3 separate regions of the Homo sapiens genome follow, and regions 2 and 3 are each linked to region 1. The links are contacts of gene promoters, found by promoter capture Hi-C in blood cells and fetal thymus (Javierre and others, 2016). All regions are on one chromosome and are shown on one strand. The core of a region is centred on a gene start or on the middle of the fragment in contact, and the rest is flanking DNA. Distances in the headings are between cores, read along the strand shown.

Region 1 (3,371 bases), core at 628-3,127:
ACTCATCACTATATTAAGTCTTCAAAAATATAATTTCTATGCACAGATTATTCTCAGATCTCAAATAAAGTTTATATCAAGTCTTCTTAGGTGATAGTGGGGTACAGTGCAAAAGGTTTCTGAGCCAGCACACCTGGGATCAAGTTTTGTTTCTGTCACTTTTTCTTTGACCATGCACTCAATTTCTTTTGTGCCTCATTTAACTTATGAAAGGGGCATGCTTCTGTGAGCCTTACAGGGCTCTTATAAGAATTATGCATAATGATTCACATGAAAGCACATGGTTAACTGAAAGAAAATACCTTTATATAATTGCCAGTAATTATTATTACACTAGATTCCTATCCCCTCAAGACTACACTTTTATTTTCTTTGATCAGAACAGGCCAGGCCAATGGACCAAAGTGGGCGGCAACCTTGGGGCAGGTGGCCCCAAGAGGCAGCCCCAGTCCAGCCTCAGGAGGGAAGACAGCCTGATTGGGGGGTGGCAGTGTGTGTAGGAGGCCTTAGAAGCTCTGTGAAGTTGGTCTGCCATGACTTGAATCTCCACAAGAAGACTCCACTTTAAAATAGGGCATTTTAAATAAACTTCTATTTTTCACTTCAATTCACTGTTTAAGTCTTAAAATATTGAAAATCTGAGTTAACTGGAGTGAAATGAAAGGCGTGGCAGATAAAGCAAAGTGAGACAAAAAGAGACTCTTATGAACATCAAAATATGAGGTACAGAGCTTGGGCAGACATAAATACAAAAATTATTAATATTAACAAAAAGCAGTAGGAAAGTGGAAATATTATAATGAAAGAAAAGGAAACCGATATCAATGCTAGCTTTAGAGATGAAATAGGCCTGGAGAACTCTGTGGCAGGCAGAGAGCGATGCTAAAATAATAAAACAAGCCACAAAGCACAATATACAATACTAACGAAATATATCCTTTAATGGCACACAAAGTGGCTTTTCTCTACTGCTTGAAACTTTAGCAGGTAGAAAAGTGAGAATGTTTCAAGAGACTTCTAAAAGGTTGCTTACAGTACTGGCAAAAAGCGAATATTCAAAATGCCACATTTAAGCGTAAGGACATTTTCAAAAAGAGCCTACTGTAGGTGACATTTAAAATACCGCCTCCCAAATAACCAGCCAGCCAGGGACTTGTAGAGGACCCGAAGTGTGTCATGCGCATAAACGATCCCGAGAGTGGGCCGCGGGCACCACGCAAACTTTCTCTTGTGGCAAGCCCCTAGAACAAAGCGCCCATCTCACTGGGGATGAGGAGATCAGCGCGACCCTGGAATGAGACAGACTCTGGGCTAAAGCTCCCCTCCCAACATAGGGCGTCCCACCCTGCCCCACAGACTCTTCTCCCAGGTCAGGTCCGCCAGTCCAAGTCTAGCCCCGGCATCCCGAAGGCAGCCCCTTAGGGTCCCAGCAGCCCTAGCTCTGTCTCGCAGGCCACCGCCCCCAACCCAGAGCTTCATTCATTGACCCCGGCGGAGGGGCGAGACCCAGCCGGGCGATGGGTGTGCGCGGCTCGAGGCGGGGGCCCCGGAGCAGGTGCTTACTCTGCGTGTCCGTTAAGGAGATCATGGCTGCAGTGGTGGGGACAGCGGCGACAGCACCTCGGAAAGCCCAGGGTGGGAAGCTGAGTCGGGAGAAATGAAGCCGGGAAACAGCCCAGGCGAGAGCCGCCACGTCTTCCGGAAACACGCAGCCACCCTCACTGCCGCTTTAAGAGCGCTTCCTATTGGCGAAACCTGCTTCCAATCTCAACCAATAACTCGTAATGTTGTTCGGTGACGCGCATGGTGACCACACCCCTTGACCAATTAGAGAAGGGAGTTATCTGTGATTGGCTGAACGGACCGACCCGGAAGGGTGGATGCTCTCAGCTGGCTGGCGGGAAGATTTTACTCCCGAGTAGCGGAAAGATCTGCTCGAGGCCTGGGTGCTTTGGTGTCGGAGATCCGAGAGTCGGAGATCGGAGAGTCGGACACAGGACAGTCGGACACCGGACAGTCAAACACCGGAGAGTTAGACCGGGCTTCTCGGTGGGGAGAGGCTCTGGGATAACTACTGTTACAGCTTTGAAGGGTCAAGGGTGTGCGCTTTTTGTTTCATCCTTCCCTTTCCTGCTGCAGGGCGAGGCCGGTCTGTAGCGGATCACTTCCTTTCGCCCACACATTGGCGGAGGAGAAACCGGAAAGTTAATCACTGCCCTGCTCTGAGAACTCGGGCCTTTAGGGGCACGTTCGCCTGCTGACCGGTCTTCTGATCTCCCCATTCTTTTCCATGCAGGAGGATTGGCCACCAAAGCCTGTTTATTAGCAGCTGCCATTTGTTGGTAAATACTACTGGGGATGCTTCTTCCACCCCCTGCTTCACAGTAGCGGAAGGGCGGGCGTTATTAATATTAAATTACTATTGCCTCTAAATGCAGGTGGCGGGGAGAGAGAGGATTTAGCCTATGGTATCTCAGTGGCGTTTCCTCCAACATTGATGACTGGCTGTCACCCTGTAACATTCTTCCTGTGGATGCCTAGCTTATACTGCTGAGTGACAGACCTGCTGTAGTTCAATTTCTGGATACATTTTATGTTGAGATATCTTTTGCTGTTAAATCACATCATTTTGGGAAGGAGCAGTCTTTTAACCGCATAATCAAAGGAGTCATTTAAAATCGTGGGGGAGAATTGGATATAGACTGTGTCTTTTCATAAGGGTAGAAACAGCCCCTGCTACCTTAGCAAACCTGAGCCCTCACTACATCAAGGCATTTTCCTGGGCTGTGCGGATACAAAGGTGAAGAGATTGAACCCCAGCCCTGCTAAAGGACCTTACAGTCTATGGAAGGAATGTTACATTTTCATTACGTGAAGAGATGTTTGTATAGATCAAGAATTAGAAATCCTTGGTTTACTCTCCTATTTAGCCTTCTTTTAATGGTGTGGTTATTCCACATTCTTTAGCAAGGCAAAAAAGAGTCAGCCTATCTTTCCGGCCTAGTGGTGGCTTCAGAATTCTGTGTAGAAAGGGCGTAAGGTCAGCAGTCTAAGGATAGGTGTTGCAGAAGTGACTTTTGGAGAGCATCTTAGTTTTAGAAAATGTCCATATTAGAGAGATAGAAGAGGTGTTTTTAGGATTATGGGGAATTTAAAGTTTCTACTCTCCAGCCCCATTTTCCACTTGTCCATATGCATGCTTAGGTTTTAGTCATTCATAGATACTTAGAAATCATTACAAACCATTTTCCCCTCCCCCCACCTCTAACTTAGAAAATCTAGCTTTTCTGTAGAATACCAGTTTCTCTTTTAAGATTGGGCTTATATTGTAATTCTTTAACGCAAGGGCTCAATAAAATGTTAGATGATTA
Region 2 (3,371 bases), core at 281-2,780, 970 kb before region 1:
GTGTGTGTGTGTGTGAGTGTGTGTGTTTTGTTGGTCTTTTGCCTGTTAGTACTGGTAGAATGAAGCTTCATGAGGGCTTTGTTTCTATTGCCTAGAAAAGTTCCTATTGGTGGTAGTCTCTTAGTATTTGTTGAATGATGAAATAAATGGTTTAAAATGTTCTTTGTTAGTAAAAAGAGATTCTTATTGGTGGTAAAAATGTGAAAGAATATAGTTTTTCAGTTACAGTTTCTTTTTTTACAAATTTGCTCCCAGTCATTTCCTTTAATCAGTCTTTTTACCAACTTTGCAATAAGTATCACAATGCTGCCTCCTCTGTGGATGACTGATGGCAAGAGTCTGAATTGAAAGAAAAATGGGTTGGAATTAGAATGAAACTATTTGTTTTTATGAGTCTCTGATAATGAAAGACTTTCACAAAAGGAAAGTATAACATTCACACGTATACATATGTAACAAACCTGCACATTGTGCACATGTACCCTAAAACTTAAAGTATAATTAAAAAAATAAAAAAAGAAAGTATAACATTATTGCTTTTATTATTTTAAACGTCTTATCTAATTTTGGCTGGTCTTCTGGAACAGTGTGTCTGGATTGTTGCGTCACATGTATAGCTTTCATCATATTATTCTAGCATAGTTGTTAATTTGGGAGGAATTTTAAGGTTATGACCTACAGCTGCACTATTCATTATTCACTGTGGTAGCCGCTGGCCACATGTGACTTTTGAGGACTTGTGACTAGTCTGAATTGAAATGTGTAGTAAGTATAAAATATACACTGGATTTTAAAGATTTACTGTGAAAAAGTAGTGTAAAATATGAATATTTTTGTATTGATTTTGTGTCAAAAATTTAATATTTTGGATATACTGAATGAAATAAAATGTTTTATTAAAATGGATTTTATCTGTTTCTTTTTACTTTATTATGTATGTGGCTTGCTTTATATTTCTATTGAACAATACTGACTTAGGGCTTCTTTAAAATGAATGCAAATGTTGATGTGTTAACATATTCATATTTGAAAAATAGACTTTGTAAAAGTTCTCTGTGCACCACTCTACTGACTGCTTATTTTTATAGTACATTATTTTTATTTGGTAGTTATATTTTGATATTTGAACATCTGTTTATAGTATGCCACTTGGGAAAAATGATTTGTAAAGCTTTGTGTTAGGGTTTCATATATTCTTCATTTATTATTTCTAATGATATGAGCTGAACTTTTTTACTTACTTAATAGTGTTTCTCACCTCTGTAAATCCATCCTGACCTCTAACAGGAAGAATGGACTCTTCCTCCATTGTGTACTTGTTGTACCTGTATGTACTTGTATAGAAACTGTTACATATTATTGTACTTAGTTTTTATATATCTGTCTTCCTTTACTATAATGTAAGCCCTTTGGAGACAGGGATGTGTTTAAATAAGACTATGAATTAAGTTACTTCATCCATTCAGTACTTATTGAGCTGCTACTATGTGTCATACAGTTTACATTTGGAAGGAGGGAGTAAATCTATTATGATTTTAAAAATTTTAACATATATGAATTTCATGTGTTGAGGATGACTGTATTTTCACAACAGTACTCATCAGTTTATGCATCTTCTAATATGTCTTTCCTTATTGTAGATACTGACTACATTATAGTCTTTTAGCATAATCTCTCAGCATTTTTTTTGACAGAGTCAGTGTACAAGGTTGATTACCAGGCCACTATACACATTACAGTGTTGTGTTATGTCCACCCTGAATATGTAGATCAGAGTGTTCCTTCTCTTAGGATGATAGCCCTCACTGAAATAAATGCTGCTGTTTAAATTTTTTGTCAATACATTAAAAAATGTTTCTAATACAAAGGTGTAGTACCACTTAAGCTTTATGGAGATAATCAAAGGTATCAAAATAAGATGCACATCTCTCAGAATAACAGTACTAGTGATGAAATTTCAGTATGAATCTAGAACATATTAAATACCAGACAGTTATATTTGTTAAGTCTGTGGCATTGTGAACAAAGGCATAACAGAATTTAAAACTATTGTAAAATTATAAAAAGTAGTGTGGTATCTAGTGGGAATAACGTTGCACTGTGTGTCAAAAGACTGACCTAGACTGGCTCTACACTTGCTAGTTTTCCAAATTTAGGCAGACTACTAATTTACTTCTGAATTACAGCTCTTTTCCATTTTGTAGTTATTATAATGTTAACTTTATAGAGGGCAGATTAATTTGGAGTACAAATAAGATAAATTGATGTGAAAGTGCTCCATAGATCATTACATTATGAAATTGTGCAGTGGTAGTCTTTTATCTAAGGTGCATACTACCAATGAACATTTAAAACTATATATTTTTGAAAAATTTTATGTACAATTTCCTTGTTTATTAAAAAGACAATTCTGTTGCATCAGCAATAGGCTATGGCTTTTGCTTTTGCGTTCACGTATTCATATTCTTCCAGCATTCCTTGTGGCCGACAGACACTTAGAACCCCTAGTGATCTTTGGCTATGTAACAGCAAAAAGCTCACTAAGCCATACAGTATTGCACCATACACTGACCTTAAAAAGATCATTATTGTAAGTACCAATGTTTATTTAGCTTAATAAATTGAATAGCAAATATGTGCATAGTATAAGTATATATGTATTCATACTCATACATTGATCATATTTCACATTTTGCTATATGGAGCTTTGAAAGTGGATAAGAAAATATATAAAAGATTAGAATTCTTTCTAGGAACATAAGTCTTTAAATTTTTAAGGCCTATTAGGACTTTTATAATGCTGAATAGAAAATATGCACACACAGCAGTACTGGATTTCAGAGCTGTAAGGACTGCCAATTCCATACACATTGTAGTGTCCTGTGTGTACACTAGATGTCAGTTTTATCTTGTTATGTCTGTGACAGTTATATATATTTTTCTGATTCGTGTATCATTAAGGCTGCCATATCTGCTATAAAAGTTTAGTTTTAAAGGTTATACTTAAGTACGGACTTCACTGAGTATATTTTACAGGCTTTTTCTCCACAGGTAGGTGTCTACTAATATAAAGATGTAAAATTTAAACTGGAAAAGACAATCTCATATGATATAAAACAATTATATTTCTTTTAGGAGATATCTGAAGAGATTATAGGATCACCCATCCCAGAACCTAGGCAACGCTCAAGACTTCTAAGATCTCAATCAGAAAGCTCGGATGAAGTTACAGAATTAGACCTTTCACATGGGAAAAAAGATGCTTTTGTTTTGGAGGTAATGTGGCATTGGACTAATTTCTTAAAGGTTTTGGAAGCTAAGATACACATTTTTTCACGTGCTAAATTAATATGATACTTTTATATCATTAC
Region 3 (3,371 bases), core at 531-3,030, 940 kb before region 1:
ATTGTTAAGCACCAGTTTATAGTTGAGGAAGCTGAATTGAGAGTTTATGTGATTTGCCCCAAAGACACAGTAAATAGTGGAGTCAAGATTCAAGCACAGGCAATTTGGCTCTAAAACCTACACTAGTAAGTGAGAAAATGTGAGTGTAGCTTGGAATAGAGGTACTTCCCAAAGGAGACAATGTTTTAGCTCAGTCAGGAAAAGTAGTTCACTGGAATTGGGTATTCCCAGTTTATTCATCCATGCATCCATTCGTCCAGCCGTTTGTCCATCCAGCAGCTGTTACGTGATTGCATAGTGTGCTCCAGAGTCTTTCTAGGCAAAGGAATAATAACAGCCATTGCTAATTGGCTGTTTTGTGCCATGTCCTGTGTACATAACGATATTGCTAATAATTCATAAAACAAGCCAGGTGGGATTATCTCTATTTTAGTATGAACAATTGTATACTCATGGTGAGACCCAGACTGATTTCTGTCAAAGCTGGAGTTTCCTTAACCACCCAAACTTGCTGCCTATTTACTCACATGGGACTGTTTGCTCCTGTGGGCTACCTTTGAAGCACAATCATCTGGACCAAGATTGGTTCCTTCCAGAAAGGCTAATGTTAACCTACACCCCAAGAGCTGCTGCTCTTTCACTATGCGTACATTACCCCTGAAACATGAGCATCTGGAATGGACATGCTGGGACTTACTCTTGGAAATAGGCCAGTTTACAGCATTTACAGCAGGCTTAACATGCCCTTCATCTTTCATCACTGCTTCTAGGGGCAACGACTCAATTTAAACGAACTCACTGTCGCACTTCCTCCACCTCCTTCTCTCCCATGATGCATTGTCATCTGGCTTTTATCACCTGTTCTGCCCTTGAATTTGAACATGCCAAAGATATAAGTATTGGATTGCAGTCTTGCAGTATTATTTGGTGAGTTTTTTTTTAATGCATACAGCTTTTTCATAAGTGCATAAATGGGATTATATAAACAATGTTTAGAGTAGTTTTCTTTTTTACCCTTTTGCCTGGTTTGCTCTTCTTCCCTATCACATCCCTTCCAATCCATGTTAATAACCTAGTGTGTGTCCTTACATATTTTGAAAAATCTGTTAGATATAATTTAAATTCAACAAAATTCATCTATTTTAAGTGTATAGTTTGAGGTTGGCAAATATATTCCATCATGTAGCCAAGATATGGAACGTTTCCATCACCAATAAAGTTCCCTGGTGTCCCTCTGCAGTCAGTCTACTCCCCCTTCCATGTCAGTGGGATCTTGTGCTCAGCAACTTTCATTTGGCATAATGCTTTTTGAGATGCGTCTATGCATGGACAACATTTTTGGCCAGTAGGAATAATAGAGCTATTTTGCATTTGAGTTTGCACTTTTTTTGTGAAAATGAAAATTTCTGTCCTATGGGGTTGACTTTTTCTTGTTAATATTTAATCTGCTGTGTGTGACAATTTCCCCCCTATTTTGTTGTCTATCTTTACAGTAACTTTTCACAATATCTATACTTTTTGTTATGGACAGTGTGACCATCTTTCCTTTTTTTTAGCTTCTTAGTTAAATTGACCTCTATTCTCTCTTTGATTTTTTTTTTGGTGTGGGGGGGCTGTCCTTAAGCTTCATCAATTTTCATACATCTTGAATTGCTCTTTTGTTAGTATGTCTCCATCAGTAAAAATTTACTATTTCTTATTTCCATAAATGTTGTTACTACTTAGCCGGTTTAGCTTGAATCGGAAGTCTGGGAGATCAAAACCTATCCTCTTCCCAATACGCCACCTAATCTCATGGCACCAGTGCATAAAGACGTGGAAGCATAAAAATGTGTGTTGTGTGGAAGCAACACATTTATTTACAAACCTTTTTTTTCTTTTTCCCTCAGAGGAGGGTCATTTTCAGAGTACTTTTGGTAATCCGATCTAAGCTTTGGACCTTTTTGTCCCCCAAAATAAGCATATACATGAACTTTTGCATACTACTTCAGGAGGTTTATTGAAACCACTTATTTGACCCCAGGCTGAATAAGGAACCACGCTGAAGAAAATGTTAGGAATGGTTGGATAAATAGTATCCTAGGAAGCTTGGCTTCTTTCTAATAGAAAAGTCAAGGCACTATAAAGACTCTCAATCTCTCTCTCTCTCTACATATATATATATAATTAAATATAAATATATTTATAATATAAATCAATATATTATTTATATATAATATAAATAGTTAATAGATTAATTATTAATATATATTATATATATTATATATATAATATATAATATATATTTAATATATATAACATTTAATATATATAACATATTTCTATATAATTAGATATATTTATATATAAATTATATATTAATATACCTATATTGATATCTGAATTTATATAAAGTAGATATATAATTATATATAATTTTTTGACTTTTTTTAATAGCCAAAGATTGCAGATATTAATCTTGTACAACAGTTGTTTTAAATTATATATACATTGTGGAATGACTAGATTGAGCTAATTAGCATATGCATTACCTCACTTTTTTCTTTTGTGGTGGGACCACTGAGAATCTACTTCTCTTAGCAATTTTCAAGAACACAATACATTATTAACTGTAGTCACCATGTTGTACAATAGACTCCTTGAACTTATTCCTCCTATTTAATTGAAGTTTTGTATCCTTTGACCAACATCTCCTAAGGCCTCACCTCTGGCAACCACCATTTTACTATCTACTTCTATGAGTTCAACTTTTTTAGATTTCACATATACTATGTAAGATCATGTGGTATTTGTCATTCTTGCCTGGCTTATTTTACTTAACATTGTGTCTTCCAGGTTCATTCATGTTGTTGAAAATGGCAGAATTTCCTTCTTTTTAAAGACTGAAGAGCATCCCATTGTGTATAGATACCATATTTTCTCTATCCACTTATCTGTTTGTGGACACTTAGGTTGATTTCATAACTTGGCTATTGTGAAAAACGCTGTAATGAACATGAGAGTGCAGATACCTCTTTGACATACTGATTTCATATCCCTTGGAAACATGCAGAGTAGTGGGATTGCTGGATCGTATGGTAGTACTATTTTCAATTTTTTGGGAAGCCTCCAGACTCTTTTCCATAATGGCTGTACTAATTTATATTCTTATCAACAGCGTGCAAGGTTCCCTTTTCTCCACGTACTCTCCAACAAAGACTATATTTTTACATATAAAAAATAAAAACATAAAAATGGTTCCTCTGCTTTTTGAAAGTAAGACTGTTGTTGTCTATAAAAATCCTTTTAAATATTTGTTCATTGGAGTTTTTTTTAAAGACTATATTTTTAAATATTAACAAACCTCAAAATGTCTATGGTAAGCAGAATAA

Evidence for each region. The method cuts DNA at HindIII sites, captures the fragments that hold promoters and counts their contacts. A CHiCAGO score of 5 or more calls a contact.
Region 2: a fragment that was not itself captured here is called in contact with the fragment with the promoter of RECQL in region 1 in 1 of 17 cell types (monocytes); the score reaches 5.2 in monocytes.
Region 3: a contact is called between a fragment that was not itself captured here and the fragment with the promoter of RECQL in region 1, in 1 of 17 cell types (naive B cells). The highest score is 5.8, in naive B cells.

Annotation. Positions count from the first base shown.
Region 1 is chr12:21,500,141-21,503,511 of GRCh38, reverse strand. It overlaps RECQL (RecQ like helicase), which reads left to right and starts at 1,877. Exons shown (of 15, transcript NM_002907.4): 1 at 1,877-2,342. GOLT1B (golgi transport 1B) reads right to left here and starts at 1,723. Exons shown (of 5, transcript NM_016072.5): 1 at 1,564-1,723. The coding sequence starts at 1,588. RefSeq lists enhancers at 658-1,365, 1,366-2,073, 2,024-2,083, 2,224-2,413, 2,454-2,503 and 2 more. The HindIII fragment of the contact is 11,962 bases long and covers 1-3,371 here.
Region 2 is chr12:22,474,656-22,478,026 of GRCh38, reverse strand. C2CD5 (C2 calcium dependent domain containing 5) reads left to right here. Exons shown (of 27, transcript NM_001286176.2): 16 at 3,136-3,276. Among named protein-coding and RNA genes, the nearest start is that of C2CD5, 68 kb to the left of the region's middle. The HindIII fragment of the contact is 714 bases long and covers 1,174-1,887 here.
Region 3 is chr12:22,444,764-22,448,134 of GRCh38, reverse strand. No RefSeq gene overlaps it. Among named protein-coding and RNA genes, the nearest start is that of C2CD5, 98 kb to the left of the region's middle. The HindIII fragment of the contact is 307 bases long and covers 1,627-1,933 here.